2 separate regions of the Homo sapiens genome follow, and region 2 is linked to region 1. Evidence: promoter capture Hi-C in 16 types of primary human blood cells and fetal thymus (Javierre and others, 2016). All regions are on one chromosome and are shown on one strand. The core of a region is centred on a gene start or on the middle of the fragment in contact, and the rest is flanking DNA. Distances in the headings are between cores, read along the strand shown. Region 1 holds the start of IRF2 (interferon regulatory factor 2). Region 2 overlaps IRF2 (interferon regulatory factor 2).

Region 1 (2,700 bases), core at 81-2,580:
GGCACGGGGCGGGCACTCGCGTCCCCACCCCGCCGCGGCCCGCGCCCCGGGACCCCGAGGGGACGCCGGCCCCCACTGCGCCGCTCGGTCCCCGGAGGCTCCCCGCCCCCACCTCGCCCGCTCCGTAGCCGAGGCGGGTCAGGCCCAGCGCGCGAGGCCGGCCGGGGGCGCCTGCGGGGACCCGGGGGCGCACGGCGCTAGGCCGCGGCCCGGGCGGCTGACCCCTCGGCACGGTGCCTTCCTGGGACGCGCCGCCCGAGCCCCTGGCGCGCTGGGACAAGTGCAATGACAAAGCCCCAGGGCCCGACCGGGCGCTGGCCGGCGGGAAGGAGGACGCGGCGTCCCTTCTGAGCGGCGGCGGCGGCGGCCCAGCCCCCAGGAAGCAGGGCGCGTCGGCCAGGCCCGGCGCCCGGCCCGGCTCCGAGCCCGCCCTCCCGCCCCGGCCGCTGGCACCCGACGCCCGCGACCCGACCCCGAGCCCGGCAGGCAGGCGAGCCCCTGGACCGCCGCGGGGCGCCCCAGCAAGTTTCCTCTGGCCGTGGCTGGAGGCGCTCCTCCCGGCCGGGGAGCGGTGCCTGCTTATTTACGCTGGAGGCAGCCTGGAGAGGCGCCGCCGCGGGCACCGAGAAGGACCCGCTCCCCTCCTTCGGATCCGGTGGCGGCGGTGGCTGCACACACACACACGCGCGCACACACAAACACGCACATACACACAATTTTGTTTTAAATGAGGCCCGACTCCAGCTGACCTGCACCCCCACACACAACACCTGGGGCGCAGAAGCACACACAGCAGGTCTGTGTCCATGGAGCCACCTCTCCGCATCTGCAAATCCAAAAGTGAAATTAAACCTCCACCAACCTCCTCCTCCTCCTCCCTCTCTACCTCCTCCTCCTCCTCCTCCTCGCAGCCTCAGCAGCCCCAGTAGCAGCAGCAACAGCAGCAGAACCTGCTTCCCCTAAAATCAGATGATCCATAATTGCGCCGACTGTTCCTCCAAAAATCAGTATTAATATTTATGAACCCCGGCATTTTCCGTCTGCAAAACATCGTGTCAAGGCATCAGGACACGCATACACACACGGCCCCCCACAGTCCCCAGAAACATGCCCTCGAGAGAAACACACACAGTCACAACTATTATTTGAAAAATGTTACCTCTCAGTGTGCTTTTTTCACGCTACCAATACAATTCCGCAAGGTATAAGTGTTGCTAGGGTATGTGAAATGGAAATGAAAGCCCGTCAGTTGAATAATCGCAGGAGCAAAACTAAAAGTTACTCCCCGGCTTGCCTGAGAACAGTCCAGATCGAAAGCAAAACAAGGAGAGGAAACTGCGAAGAGCCGCGGCTGGAAATCCCCCCACCCCCCGCCCTCCTCCGGCCGCGCTCCCTCCCTCGCCTCCCCTCTCCGCCCTCCTCCCTCCGCCCTTCCTCCCCAGTGTTTGTTTCAAGCTTGTGCAACCGGGAGGTGGAGGCGGAGGGAGGGCGCGAGCGGCCCGGCCGGGAGGTGCGGAAGTTCGCCGCAGCAGCTCATTGGCGGGCAGCGCCGCTTTCATCATTTCTCGGAAAAGTCAATTTCATTTTCGCTTCCCCAGGTCGCGGCGGCGGGAGCAACAAGCAGCGGCTCGTGAGTCCGCGGCTCGCACCCAGGGGCGCCCGCACGTGCGGCTAGAACGTCCGAGTCGGGGTCCGGGGCGGGGGGCGCAGGCCCGCGGCGGTAGGGGAGGAGAGCGGGCACCCGAGTCTCCATCCTCAGGGTGGCCTGAAGGTTCCAGGAGGGCGTCCGGCGAAGGCACGGGGCTGCGACCATCCAGTTAGCAGGGCTGGTGTGACTGTTGAGAGTAAATGAAAATTCGTTTTGTGACACCGACCACCTCCAAGGAATGAAAGGAGCAGTCAGCCGAAACGACAGCATTACTTGCGTCCTTACCTAATTGGAACCTTATCCGTGGCTGAGGGTGCCACCATTGGAGGGGCCGCCGCCCCCTCTGACACCACCTGGCGCTCCGCTCCATTTAGGAGCTAGAACGAAAAGGAGGCCCATCCCCCAGTAAGTCACAGCCCACGCCAAGATGAGTTCTGGAGCCTGTGCGACCGAAGTTTCTTCACCGCAGGGCGAGGTGGACAAGGGTGTGAGTTACTTTGACTTCAAGACGTCTCAGTGGCGGCTGGTTCTGGAGAGAGGCTTTATGCTGGAGCACTTCCAGCAAAGTTCGGCTGGGGCCTCCTTAACTCACTGGCTGGTCACCCTTGGCCTCGGTTTTCAACCAAAGCCTAAGGCCTCAGTTTTCAACGCTGTAAATGGAAATAAATGAGAGAAGAAAGTACAGCCCGTGTGACAAGTGCAGCAAGCAATGCAACTTCCTTGGGACCTACCCTTTGTGGTCCCTTGCTTTAAAAGTATAGATTCACATTTAGTTAGACCTGTTTCTTCCTCGCATGCAATTTCACCAGTCTTTTCCCAGACTTCTGTACTCAACAGAGGAAGTTCCTTCCTGGGAGACCATAGCTGTTTGTATGTAAAGAGTTGCGAAAAAACAAAAGCAAAACAAAAAACTCCAACACCTCTCTGTCACAGAAGTATTGAATTATATAGACTGGAAAAATGGAAGTATCCAAGAAAACGCGTGTGGTAAGAAAATGGCTAAGGTGCAGGATTCTGTTTTGTGGCTCTGGTCTCAGAAATAGACCTCACAT
Region 2 (2,700 bases), core at 146-2,645, 38 kb before region 1:
GAGGTTGAATTTTCACCCAAATAACTGAATTTTGGTTCTTGGAATAGTAAGAGCAACGGTTACCATTTACAGAGCACCTACTATGTGCTGGGCATTAAAACTAGGGTTTTCTTGCTAGGTGTGGTGGGACACACCTGTCTTTTCAGCTCCTTGGGAGGCTGAGGTGGGACAATCACTTGAAGCCAGGAGTTCGAGGCTGCAGTGAGCCATGATCACACCACTGCATTCCAGCCTGGGTGGCAGAAAGACAGCCCCTCTCTAAAAATAGAAAATAAAAAACCTAGGGTTTTCTACAAGTTTTGCCATTTAACCCTTACAACCCTAGGACATAGGGACTTTATTATCCTTTATTACCTGCTAGTAAGTGGAGAGCCAAGACTCTCATTTAAATTCAGGCCTATCTAACGTGAAACACCCAGGCTTATCCACTCTAACCTCTGCCTTCATCGTACTTTAGAAAGCACTGAGTTATGAAGACCTCTTAATTGTTCTACTTACTGAGACTTTCCAAACTCCTCTCCGTCTTGCAAACCACTGACAGTCATCTTCCTAAAATACCATTTAATCATGTTAATTCTCTGTTCCAGAGACTTCTAAATGTGCCTGCTGGATTTAAGGTAATAAATTCCTTAGCTGAGAGGGGGGTGGTGCTTCTGGTAATGGTACAGTAGGTAATTCAGACCTGACTCCCAGGCTGAATAACTAAGAAACATGGACAAAATATATTTTTAAAATCCATTTAAATGCATCAGAGAGCTAACAAGGTAGTTAAAAATTAGGGGGGCAAGATCTAGGAGAAAAAGAAACCCAGGAAGGTGAACCTGACATTTAGGGCTGCTGTCGTCCTAGCGCAGGGACAGCTGCTCCTTTCTGAAGAGGAGGCTGTGGGGCTTTGAAAGCAGAGCTTTTGACACACTCAGGTGACTGAGGAGACAAAAATTGAACATCAGGATGCAGCTAGGAAAAGGGGTTCCTGGAAACACCCTCACAAGCTTTGTAAGTAATACAACTAAGTAGAAATAAACTAATATCAAAGGCTGAAGCCCAGCTTTGAATCATCTCAATCCCTGATCTAATGAAAATGACCTGGAACTACCAAAAGTAAATAGAAATCAGATCTTGAGGAACATAACATTACCCTAGGATTCATATTATCTCTGGAGCTTTTCTTTTTTCTTTTTCTTTTTCTTTTTTCTTTTTTTTTTTGAGACAGAGTCTCGCTCTGTCGTTGGGCTGGAGTGCAGTGGCTCGAACTCGACTCACTGCAACCTCTGCCTCCCAGGTTCAAGCAATTCTCCTGCCTCAGCCTCCGGAGTAGCTGGGACTACAGGTGCCCACCACCATGCCCAGCTAATTTTTGTATTCTCAGTAGAGACAGGGTTTCATCATGTTGGCCAGGATGATCTCAATCTCTTGACCTCGTGATCCGCCCACTTTGGCCTCCCAAAGTGCTGGGATTACAGGCGTGAGCCACTGCGCCCGGCCATGGAACGCCTTTTCTTATTACCCAGTCACCCAATGGATCAGCAAAAATTCATTAAACACACATTGTTACAAGGAACTGTGCTGAGTGCTGTGGGGGATTCAAAGACGGTAAGACATGATCACTACCCTCAAGGAACAAATAAGTTAACTGAGGATGTGAGAGATAAATCACATAAAGCTAACTAATAATCCTATAATTATAATAATAAAAGACTATGCAATAAAGATCAGAAGGTAGTGTATTATTAATTGCCAACTAAGTTAGGTAGTTCATAAGGAATACATAAATCATTGTTAAATGGGCATATAAGAGAAAGCTTTATGGCAAAGGAAAGCTTTATGGTAAAGGAAGACCTTAATGGATGGGGAGGTGCTGTCTAGGCAGGGAGAAGGTGGCAGGCAAGCCAGGGGAGGTAAAAGGTTGGTATCGGCGGCCAAAGCAGGACTGAAGATGTGTTTGCTGATGTGAGCAGAGCAACTGTCTTATGCACCAACAGGGGTGTCTTCATAAGAGTCACTGGTGTGTGAGAAGCAAGCACTGGGTATTTCACATCAATCATCTTTAACTCTCATAACAGCTCTAACCAGTTAAATACTAGTATCCCCATTTTATTTTTTCATTTTATTTTTGAGACAGGTCTCACTCTGTCACCCAGACTAGAGTGCAGTGGTGCAATCCTAGCTCACTACAGTCCTGACTTCCTGGGTTCAAGAGAGCCTCTCACCTCAGCCTCTCAAGTACCCAGGACTACAGGTGCATCCACTACACCCAGCTAATTTTTTGTTTTTCGGGTTTTTTGAGATGGAGTCTCGCTCTGTCACCCAGGCTAGAGTATAGTCGTGCAATCTTGGCTCACTGCAACCTCTGCCTCCCGGGTTCAAGCAATTCTCCTGCCTCAGTCTCCTGAGTAGCTGAGATTACAGGCATGCGCCACCACGCCCAGCTAATTTTTTTGTATTTTTAGTCGAGACGGGGTTTCACCATGTTGGTCAGGCTGGTCTTGAACTCTTGACCTGATGATCCACCTGCTTTGGCCTCCCAAAGTCCTGGGATTACAGGCATGAGCCACCGCGCCTGGCCTAATTTTTTAAAATATTTTTGTAGAAACAGGGGTTTCACTACCTATGTTGCCCGGGTTGGTTTGAACTCCTGGCCTCAAGTGATCCTCCTACTTCAACCTCCCAAACTGCTAAGGTTAGAGGCATAAGTCACCG

What was found. The method cuts DNA at HindIII sites, captures the fragments that hold promoters and counts their contacts. A CHiCAGO score of 5 or more calls a contact.
Region 2: a fragment that was not itself captured here is called in contact with the fragment with the promoter of IRF2 in region 1 in 1 of 17 cell types (naive B cells); the score reaches 5.0 in naive B cells.

Annotation. Positions count from the first base shown.
Region 1 is chr4:184,473,220-184,475,919 of GRCh38, forward strand. It overlaps IRF2 (interferon regulatory factor 2), which reads right to left and starts at 1,331. Exons shown (of 9, transcript NM_002199.4): 1 at 1,160-1,331. It overlaps IRF2-DT (IRF2 divergent transcript), which reads left to right and starts at 1,583. Exons shown (of 1, transcript NR_186573.1): 1 at 1,583-2,700. RefSeq lists silencers at 1-409, 490-539, 1,350-1,469 and enhancers at 1,500-1,689, 2,040-2,369. The HindIII fragment of the contact is 7,048 bases long and covers 1-1,453 here.
Region 2 is chr4:184,434,790-184,437,489 of GRCh38, forward strand. The region is part of intron 1 of IRF2 (interferon regulatory factor 2); the gene reads right to left. Among named protein-coding and RNA genes, the nearest start is that of IRF2, 38 kb to the right of the region's middle. The HindIII fragment of the contact is 810 bases long and covers 991-1,800 here.